Regions from separate parts of the Homo sapiens genome. Here all the other regions are linked to region 3. The links are contacts of gene promoters, found by promoter capture Hi-C in human tissues and cell types (Jung and others, 2019). All regions are on one chromosome and are shown on one strand. The core of a region is centred on a gene start or on the middle of the fragment in contact, and the rest is flanking DNA. Distances in the headings are between cores, read along the strand shown.

Region 1 (3,370 bases), core at 792-3,291, 62 kb after region 3:
TCGGCCTCCCAAAATGCTGGGATTACAGGCATAAGCCACCACACCCAGCCAATGTCAATCTTATAGTACTTAAAGTGATTCAGATGACAGTATCAAAATCATAACTTGATCCCTACAGGTTGGTGCTGTTTAGTTGAATTTTCTGCAATGATAGAATAGCAGCCACTAGCTGTATGTAGCTAGTGAGCACTTGAAATATGGCTACTGAGACTGAGAAAGTGAATTTTAAATTTTATTTAATTTTAATTTACATCTCAATAGCCACATGCAGTTAGTAGCTACTGTATTAGATGGCACACTCTAAATTATTTGTAAGCCTGGCTCTGCACCTTAGCAATAGATGGAATCACTAATCATGGCCAGTTATTTTCTAATCAATAAGGTAATGGCCAATTTATTTTCTAATAAATAAGGTAATGGAGGTGGAAGCCTGGGCATAGAGAAAATCCAGTCCCACTACTAGTAAAGTAATATAACATGCTACTCTGCATCAGTGAGGAAGCAAACCAACCTCATGGATAATAAAAAACCAGAATGACACTTAAGGTTTGGGAACAGTAACCTCCAGGTAAGAAGAAGAATGGGGCAGACAAAAATATTTGAATAGATATTACTTAAAATGTCCCAAATGTACTGAAAGCCATACAGTTACAGATTCAAGGTCAGCGGACCCAAAAAGATCCCCAGAATCAGACTGGGACTATGATACAGATGTTGGAATTATCAGACAGGGAACTTTTTAAAACTATGATTAATATGTTAAGGGCTCTAATGAAAAAGTAAACAATATGCAAGAACAGATAGGTAATGTAAGCAGAGAGACGGAAACTCCAAGAAAGAAACAAAAGGAAATAATAGAAATCAGAAACACTGTAACAGAAATGAAGGATGCCTCTGATGGGCTCATGAATAAACTGGACACAGCCAAGGAAGAATCAGTGAGCTCAAAGATAGGTCATTACAAACTTTCCCAACCAAAAACAAAGAGAAAAAGAATGAGAAAAAAAGAACAGACTATCCAAGACTGTAGAGCAATTGCAAAAGATGTACCATATATATAATTGGAATACCAAAAGGAGAAGAGAGAACAGAGAGGAAATTGTGAATGAAGCTAGGGGTATTGAAGTATTAATGGCCAAGAGCTTTCCAAACTTAATAACAGACATCAAATCACAGATCCAAGAAGCTCAGAAAATACCAAGCAAGAACCACACCTAGGCACGTCATATCCAAACTGCGGAAAACCAAAGACAAAATTTTGAAGAAGCTGGGGGCTGGGGGTGGGGTAAGGAGAACCCACCTTACCTATAGAGCAATAAGAATGAGAATTACAGGGGACTTCTCATAAGAAACTGCAAACAAGGAGAGAGAGGAATAAAAATTTAAGTATTGAAAATATTTAAATATTTCTTTTTCTCTCATGCCTTGGAAACTCAAAGCTGCTCCTCTAGGGCTGTGAGGCTCCTAGGGCTCTTTGTGTTTTTAAAGAAAGGCAAATTAAAACAACAACAACAACAACAACAAAAAAAAAAAACTACAAGTCTAGAAGTCTATACCAGCAAAATTATCCTTCAAAAACAAAGGCCGGCCATGGTGGCTCACTCCTGTAATCCCAGCACTTTGGGAGGCTGAGGTGTGTGGATCACTTGCGGCCAGCAGTTCAAAAGCAACCTGGCCAACATGTTAAAACCCTATCTCTACAAAAAATACAAAAAATTAGCCAGGCATGTTGGTGCATGCCTTTAATCTCAGCTACTAGGGAGGCTGAGGCACAAGAATCGCTTGAACCTGGGAGGTGGAGGATGCAGTGAGCAGGGATTGCACCACTGCACTCCAGCCTGGGTGACAGAGTGAATGAGACTCCACCTCAAAAAAAAAAAAAGACTATTTAAGTTAATGATAGTGACAATGTATTAGGTGAGTATCACATATGTAAAGTGAAATGAATGATAGCAATGTCACTGGGAATATGCTGTTGTTATAAGGTGCCTGTTACAGGTAAAGTGGTAGAGTGTCATTCAAGGTGGACTTAGACTAGTTAAAAATGTATATTGTAAACTCCAGGGCAACCACTAAAAAAATTGTTTTAAGTTAAAAAAAGATAAAAACACTACCCAGAGACACAGCTAGTTTTATACCATGAAATACCAGCACATGGACATGAGAATGTGGTACAAATGTTGATACAGGGAAGCAAAGTGAAGCTCAGAGAATGAAAGGAGTCCTACCTTGTATGGCGAAAAGAACAGTGAAAAGGGACTGAATACCTTTTCAACAGAAAACACACACCCACACACACACACACACACACGGCTGCTGTAGCTCATTAGGAAGAAGTGTGCTCAGCCAGGACACATCTTACTATTCAGACAAAGGTCACATTGAAAAAGCAAACAGATGGCAGCTTCCAAAACACTTTCTTGTTTGGTTTCAAGTGTGTTGCCATTTGAGGACAGAAATGTGGGGTGCCAGTCAGGAGCACACTCCTCTCACACCCTAATTACAGCAGCTAAGTCAATACTCAAATGAGGTAATACTTGACCCTGCAATCAAATCAGAAACCACATCATTTTAGTGAGAGGTGGCCCTAGTGCCTTTAGCAGTGGCCAGAAAGGAGAAATAATAGAGCTGCATCCTCACAGAAAACCTCAACTCCTCCCAGCAAGGTGAGAGAGCCCGAAGGATTGAGACAGAGGACAAAAACACAGTTAATTTTAGCAGTTTCATGTCCACTTGGTAAAATAAGAAGCAACATTTGCAATGTGACAGAGAAATGTCAAGGCCCTGGAAATGTCCTCTGAACCATGAAGGCTTTTGAATCATTTTCAAAGAAAAATATGCCCAAGATCATGCAGTTTCTCATTCAATTTTCTTTTGCCTTTTCTTTCTCTCTCGTGCCTTGGAAACTCAAAGCTGCTCCCCTTAGGGCCTGCCAGATTCCCTAGGGCTCTTTCTGTATTTAAAGAAAAGCAAATGAAAAGTGCTACTCCCTTCATAGTGAGGGGGCTGCTGTTGTTCTGGGGAACAAAACAAATGTCAGGGTCACCTTCTGTCTGTCACCATTTAATCCAGCTCTCATAGATATCTGAATATTTGGTGGTGATTTTGTGGCCTACTGGGATGACAAATTTCATCAGAAGGGGGAACAAAACCCACGGGCAACAAAAAACCCCAAATATATCATTGGAATGCCAGCTGTCACTTGGTTCTGGTCCCGTTTAGGATCTTCAAATCCAGGAACATGGCTAAATTCTCGGAAGCAGGAGCACCCAGCCCCGCTCTGGTCCTCGGCTAGTTGTGGGCGGCTCTGAAGGACTCCTCCCTGCCTGGACATCTGTCCATGCCTGACACCGTCACTGCTGACCCTGAC
Region 2 (3,451 bases), core at 217-2,716, 42 kb before region 3:
ATCTGTAAGAAATTGTGATGAATCCTATCAATATCAACTACACAGATTAGAGGGTTCTTCCCCATCTCATGGTCAGCAGAATGACCTGAGCAGTGTCAGTGGTGGAGCTCCGCACGGCCTAGGGGCCCCACAAGGCCTAGCAGCCTCCCACATGGGCAATGAGACTATAGAGGCACAATACCACAGCAGGCAGGCTATTCAGCCAACAAAGGGATAGGAACCACCAAAGGCATTCCAAGGGTCATTTTAGGGACAGACTTAAAAGACAGTCAGGATTTATGGGAGGGACAAGGCAGGAAATGTAGGTTTCTCTGGTGGGTCTTGGAGCCAATGGTCACTTCCAGCCCCATTGCTATAAGCTAAACCCAGACAATTTTCATGGATGTGCAGCCCAGCATGGTATAGAGATGGAATGTAAGTATCCACTCATATTTACAAAATTATTCCACTGTGAAAATGGCTTTCACACATATGAGACCACTTCTTCCTTCCAACAATCCATGGGGGTATCTAGGAACAATATTATTACCCTCAATTTACAGACAAGAAAACCAAGGCTCAGAGATTAGATGATTAGCCAAATTCACTAAGCCAGGGAGTACTTAGGTTGAAATTCAAACTGAGATTCCTTAACTCACAGTGCAGACTTCTCTTTAGTTACTATCATTAACATTAATAGATAATATTTATTGAACATTTTTGTATTCCAGGTGCTTACTGCAGTTTATATCAATTATAACATTTAATTTTCATAATTACACTAGAAAGTATTAGGACCACCACTTTACAGATGAAGAAACTAGGATTTAAGGGTTTAAGTAATTTTTAAAACCTCGCATGATATTCTTCTAAGAGTATTTATGAGCAGCACTGCATTTGTAAACCACAAATATACAACATGGCAGCTGGAATGCCTAGTCTATTATCAAAGAAGGTAAAACCTACATAGATAGGCATAGATCCCACTGGATTTGTTAACCCATGTCTCAACCAGAGCTGGGTAAAACAGACTATGCTGGAGGGACATTACTGTCCCTAACCCATCTCCCCATTTCCCAACTTCCTCTGAGTCCAAGGAGCTGGGCAGAAGAGCAGAATCCTCATCTTATACAATTCCTGAGGCCAGAGCTCAGGCCTGACATGTGGGTGTATACATCACCTCTCACATGCATAATCCTTCCCTCAAGGCACAAATAATGTAAATGAGGGATAGGAATGAAGAATGTCTAAGGGAAATCTGATTCCACCAGCCATATGAATCCTCATTTTTAAGAACAGAGCTCCTCCTTGATGATTTCCTCTTAAGTTTTTCACTTAGAAAAAACAATTGGTCTTAACGTCACCAATTACGGAACAAGTAGGCATCATCTCCTTCCTGATGTGATATACTGAGAAAGATGTATGCACATCATTTCTGGGGTATTCCTGCCAAAAGCATATCAACTAAATCTAATCAGAAGGGATATCAGACAAAACAAAATTGAGGGACAGTCTACAAAATAACTGTCTTATGCTCTTCAAATATGTCAATGTCATGAAAATCAAAGAAAGACTGAAGAATAAGTTCCAGATTAAAGGAGAAGAAAGAAATGTTAACTAAATGCAATTCATAACCCTGGATGGAATTCTGGATCAGGAAATGTTTTTGGTTTGGTTTTGTTATAAAGGATTGTATTGACACTTGACACAATTTGAAGAAGGTCTGTAGATTAACTAACAGTATTGCATCTATGCTAATTTCCTGATTTTGAAGATTGCACTGTGGTTATGCAAGAGGATGTCCTTGTCTTTTAAGAAACTGAAGCTTGGGGCATGGAGAAAAGAGAGAGAGAAAGTCAGATAGAGAGAAAGAATAATAAAGCAAATATGATAAATGTTAATGTTTGGGGCATCTGGGAAAAGAGTAAAAGAATTCCATAGTGCTATTCTCATAAGTTTTCTCTAAGTCTGAAATTATTTCAAAATAAAACCCATTATTATTTAGAGACATTGAGCCTTTATGAGTAAACATGACAGAATCTTCAGTCTTGGTAGGAAACTGTGATCAAAGTCTGTGCAAAACAAGTCTTAATATTGTATCATTGAGGTGGGAGGAAGCAGGGGCATTAATCCACCAACTCTCATTCCTCTTTGGTTGAGAGTTGTCTCTGAGGCATTAAGTCTGCAACACTTTCATGCTGCCCTGTTCACAGACAGAGCACATGCCTACCACCAGAACCGCTAAGGCAGAGATGCAAGATGCCATGATGTGTACAAGAATGGCCTGCAGATGACCTCTGGTATGGGATTAGAGGATATGAACAGGGTAGCTACAGTGTCTACCAGAGTGACACAACCTAACTCCTACCCACTAGCATAGTATCTTCCTTCCAGTCATCTGTCACCCAAAGGGCTTTTAGGCAGAGAAACTTCAAAAAACACATATGCCTGAAGTTGAGTTGATATCCATGTTCTGGAAAACAAAGAAAGAGGTACTATGGAATGAACAATTAAAAAGCCCTGAGTGAACGCAAAGGAAGTATGTATTTTCTGTGTGGATTTTCTCAGTAACAGGCCAGTTTGGCTCTTTTCAGCTAGGGTAATTGGAATAAAGGTGTTCCATTTTGAGACAAGAGGGAAAGCCGGGGTCACTGCTTGCAGCCAGGAGCTAAAATGAGGCTTCCATGAAGACTGGCAAAAAGGAAGTAGACTGCTGCTGCCTGAGATTATGGCATTTAGGGCCAAGGAATGTAGAAGGACTTTAATGAAGCTTGATTCCAGGAGCTGAATCAAGACACCTACACCTTAAGAACAGAGAGTTTGCCAAAGAGGAAATACAAATGGAAAAAAAAAAAACATATGAAAAGATTTTCAACATCATTAGTCATCAGGAAATGCTAATTGAAACTATAGAGAGACATCACTACGCACCTATCAAAATGCCTAAAATAAAAAATAGTGACAAAACCAAATGCTGGTAATAGTGTAGAGAAATGGGATTGTTCATTAATTGCTTGCAGGAATGTGAAATGACATATCCATGCTGGAAACCCATTTGAAAATTTCTTACAAAACTAAATATGCAGAGTGACAACAAGAAGATTGGCAAAGCAGAAAGCACAGGAATCTATCTCCCCACCAAGACAAAAAAATGCACTGGCAGGATCTGTCTGATGTAACTATTTTGAAACTTGGAGTCTGTTTGAAGGCTTTCAACTTCCAGGCAAAAGCTTGAATGGAAAGTTGCAATTAATTTCAGTCTATTTAAACTTTTAATGCAGTACAACAATTAAAAATAAAGGAAACCATGTGGAAAGGGAAGAATCTGATTTTCAGAGTTAAAAATTATAAGGTTCAAATGTCAAAAATCAAAAAGCATACAAAGAAAGAGGAAAGTATGGCCCAGTCAAATGAAAAAAAAAAAATCAACAGAAACTCCCTAAGAAAGAACAGCTGGCAGATTTATTAGACA
Region 3 (3,540 bases), core at 800-3,299:
TGTGCTCAGTCTTCTCTGTCTTCTTTCACTCAGCATAATTATTTTGCCATTTATCCACATTGTCATTTGTGTGTATGCCAATCATTTCTTCCTTTTCATGGCTAAGTAATATTCCATGGTATGACACCGCACAATTTGTCCACCCATTCACCTGTTGATGAACATGTGGCTTGTTTCCAGTTTAGGACTACTCCCAACACAGCTGCCATGAACATTCACATGCATGCGAGTGTTTATTTTATGCTTGTACATATGCTTTCTTTTCTCTTAACAAAATACCCAAGAACAGAATGGTGGGATTATTTGGTAGGCGTGTATTTGAGCATGGCAGTTGTGATGAAACTTCCACCCAGGTTTCAGAGTGTCCACACTGTGTAGGTGTTTGAGCATGGCAGTTGTGATGAAACTTTCCTCTAGGTTTCAGAGTATCCACACTGTGTATATTTAGCCCACAAGTCAAAGGTACACACAAACCACATGTGAACCAAGAACACACACACACTCACCCACAAGGAGTTTGCATCAGCTGCAACAGACTTCATCCTATCCTCCCAGACAACATGTGAAGGGAGCTTCCGGAAGGGAAATCTCCCAGGCTGCCCTCTGATTTTGTAAAATGTTCAATGCACAAGCTCCTGACAGCATGGATACTTTATAAATGGCTCACAGAGGGCTGTGGGGTCTGTCTCTGGGAGATCCTTTAATTAATGGCACCATCTCATTGGCCTAGAATAGAATAGTTACAGTCAATACTGAGAGCTTTGGCATGAAGTGAAGCAGAGCTGGAATTCTCTAAGGGTGGTGCCATCAGCATCCCCTGGGAACTTGTTAGAAATGTGCATTCTCTCCAGCCCAGATTTCCTGAGTAGAAGCTCTGAGATGGAGCCCAGCAATCCAGACTTTAACCAACCTTTCCGGTGATTCTGATGCATGCTCCAGTTAAGAACCACTGGCCTAGAACACCTCCCAAGCCCTTCAAGTTTCTTGGAATTGAAACCATCAGAAATTATAATACACCAACAGCACCATCCCCTCTATTGCCTGGGTTCCACCCACAGACCTGTGGTGCCCCATTCCCTTAGCACCCCACAGTCTCATAGTAAAGTTTCCTCATGGAATCAAGTTACCATGCAGAATGCACACCTGCACAATGATAGTTATCACTTCTTTCCCCAAAACATCAAACTTTTTTAGAAAAGGAAAAATGTCTCAAGAACACAATCATTGGAGTATTTAATTCCAATGATCATAATCACCCATTTCTTTACACGTGGCTCTCACCCTGGCATAAATGGAGCATAAAGGGCATAAATGGAGCTAAAAAAAGAGAAAAAGACAAAGATTCTAATTGATGCACTACAACGCTTTTTACTGCTTCAGAACCCTCCCTGAAAATTTACCCATCAACAGGAAAATCAATTAAACTTGAATAGGAAGAATTTGAGTAAAAATATTGGATACTTTTTACTTTAATCTTCAGATTAAGCATGATTTCCACTCGACATTATCATCGAAGAGAAGTTCTTCCTTGGTATTTTTGCATGCTTAAAATTTAGCCCAGTCTTTGAAAACCCTTTCCAGCTTCCAGCTAAGCAGAACCTTGCCACTCACTTTGAACTTTCCGGCAAGGAAAGCCTTCTGCGGGTTCATTTTGCCCAAAACCAGCTCCATAAAGACAGACTCCGGGATTGTAAAGACAGTGTCTGCTGGGAGCCTGGCAGGTCCCGGATACATGTCCCCAGAACCATTCTTCAGATCAATGGTCCACCGCAAAATGGTCTTCCCATTTTTGGTGATGTCCAGCTGAAAGACGGCATTGACTTTCTTGACCAATTGAGCTCCCACTTCCCTGATGTGAAGCCTAATGTCCTGAAACACTGGGAAGCTCTCAAATTCTGACAGCTCTAGAGGATGTGGCATGGCAGGTTCTGGAACTGAACCCAGAACCTCGAACTGGCCCACCAGAGGTCCATCCTCTGCTTTGATCTTGGGTTGATGGTCACTTCTCTTCCACATCTTCCTGTGCTAGTCCCCTGGACCTTGCCATCTAGTCTGTGAGCAGCTGTGACCAGATTAATACCCACAGGTCAGATTGTGACATCAAAGGTAAGGCCAAGTGGGGACTGAAGCTGGTGTGTGTGCTACAGTCTTATTGGCCAAACAAATGATAACGTGTGACCTCAGATAAGGGCTCAGACAGGCCATTGTGAGGCAGATCCACACACACACGCCCCTCCCAAACCAATCAGGGATGTTGGTCCTGCAAGCCCAAAAGGTCTGCAGGCTGCAATGGGGTTAAGGGAAACTGGCCCCAGAAGCTTCTTTAGTGACATGAGCTCTGTCTTTCCAATGCAGACATCTCCTCAGTGAAACCCAACGTGAGACAGAAGTTATTCTTATTCCTCTAAAACTAGGTAACACTTAAGTCCCATTAAGTGGGTAATACTTAAGTTAATACTACAGATCCTAGTGCTGAATTTGGCTTTATCTGGCTGCTGGTAGAAAGGGAAATGCTTTTAGGCCAGAGTAATTGATTGGAGAAGGAATCAGTCCAGGAGCCTGCATCAGAAACTTTCCAGAAGCACAGTGAGACACACACAGAGAGATTAAATGTCCCTAAGATCAGAAGATGCTGCCAGTCTCCTCTGATAATTACACGTAATAGTATAGCCCTTGCTCTGGGCCAAGGTGCAGAGTTCTAAGTACTACACATGTATTAACACATTTAACTCTCATTACAACCCTCTATGATAGGTATTTTTTCTTTTTTTTTTTTTTTTTTGAGACAAGGTCTTGCTCTGTCACCCAGGCTGGAGTACAGTGGCGCGATCTCTGCTCACAGCAGCCTCTGCCTCCTGGGCTCATTTGATCCTCCCACCTCAGTCTCCCAAGTAGCTGGGAATACGGCGTGTGCCACCACACCTGGCTAATCTTTGTACTTTTTGTAGAAATGGGGTTTCACCATGCTGCCCAGGTTGGTCTCAAACTCCTGGGCTAAAGTGATCCACCTACCTCGGCCTCCCAGATAGGTATTCTTTTTATCCCCATTTTACATATAAGGAAACTGAGGGGAGAAATGAAGTAACTTGCCCAATGTCACACAGTTAGTAAGTAGTGTAGCCAGATTTGAGGAGAGGCAGAATGACTCCAAAGTCCACCTGTTTATTTCTTTACTTTTTATTCTGAAATAATTTCAGTCTTATAAAAAGTTTGCAAAAATAGTACCTGTTTAACCTTCTCCCAGCTTTCCCCAAAACTAACATCTTATATAATCACAGTACAGTGATCTAATCTGAGAAATTCACATTGGTTCATGACTACTAACTAATCTACAGACCATGTGAGACCATATCTATTTGGTTGCAGGTCTCCCTAGTGCCTTGCAGTCTGGGGCAGCTCTTCAATCTTTGTCTATCGTTACCTTGACACTTGAATACTGGCCAGTTATTCCCAAAAATGTCCCTCCTTTGAGGACTGCCTGATGCTTTCTCCTGGTTAGGTGGAGGTTATGCATTTGGGACAAGGATGCCACAGAGGTGA

The links. The method cuts DNA at HindIII sites, captures the fragments that hold promoters and counts their contacts. A contact is called where the count stands out against the background at its distance.
Region 1: a fragment that was not itself captured here is called in contact with the fragment with the promoter of SCP2D1 in region 3 in 1 of the 25 tissues and cell types used here (spleen).
Region 2: a contact is called between a fragment that was not itself captured here and the fragment with the promoter of SCP2D1 in region 3, in 8 of the 25 tissues and cell types used here (H1 embryonic stem cells, IMR-90 fibroblasts, aorta and 5 more).

The regions. Positions count from the first base shown.
Region 1 is chr20:18,750,006-18,753,375 of GRCh38, reverse strand. All of the region lies in intron 5 of DTD1 (D-aminoacyl-tRNA deacylase 1), which reads right to left. Among named protein-coding and RNA genes, the nearest start is that of LCDR, 42 kb to the left of the region's middle. The HindIII fragment of the contact is 5,781 bases long and covers 1-3,370 here.
Region 2 is chr20:18,853,806-18,857,256 of GRCh38, reverse strand. No RefSeq gene overlaps it. Among named protein-coding and RNA genes, the nearest start is that of SCP2D1-AS1, 25 kb to the right of the region's middle. The HindIII fragment of the contact is 7,453 bases long and covers 1-3,451 here.
Region 3 is chr20:18,812,292-18,815,831 of GRCh38, reverse strand. SCP2D1 (SCP2 sterol binding domain containing 1) reads right to left here and starts at 2,049. Exons shown (of 1, transcript NM_178483.3): 1 at 1,454-2,049. The coding sequence starts at 2,016. The coding sequence ends at 1,546. The region is part of intron 2 of SCP2D1-AS1 (SCP2D1 antisense RNA 1); the gene reads left to right. The HindIII fragment of the contact is 11,706 bases long and covers 1-3,540 here.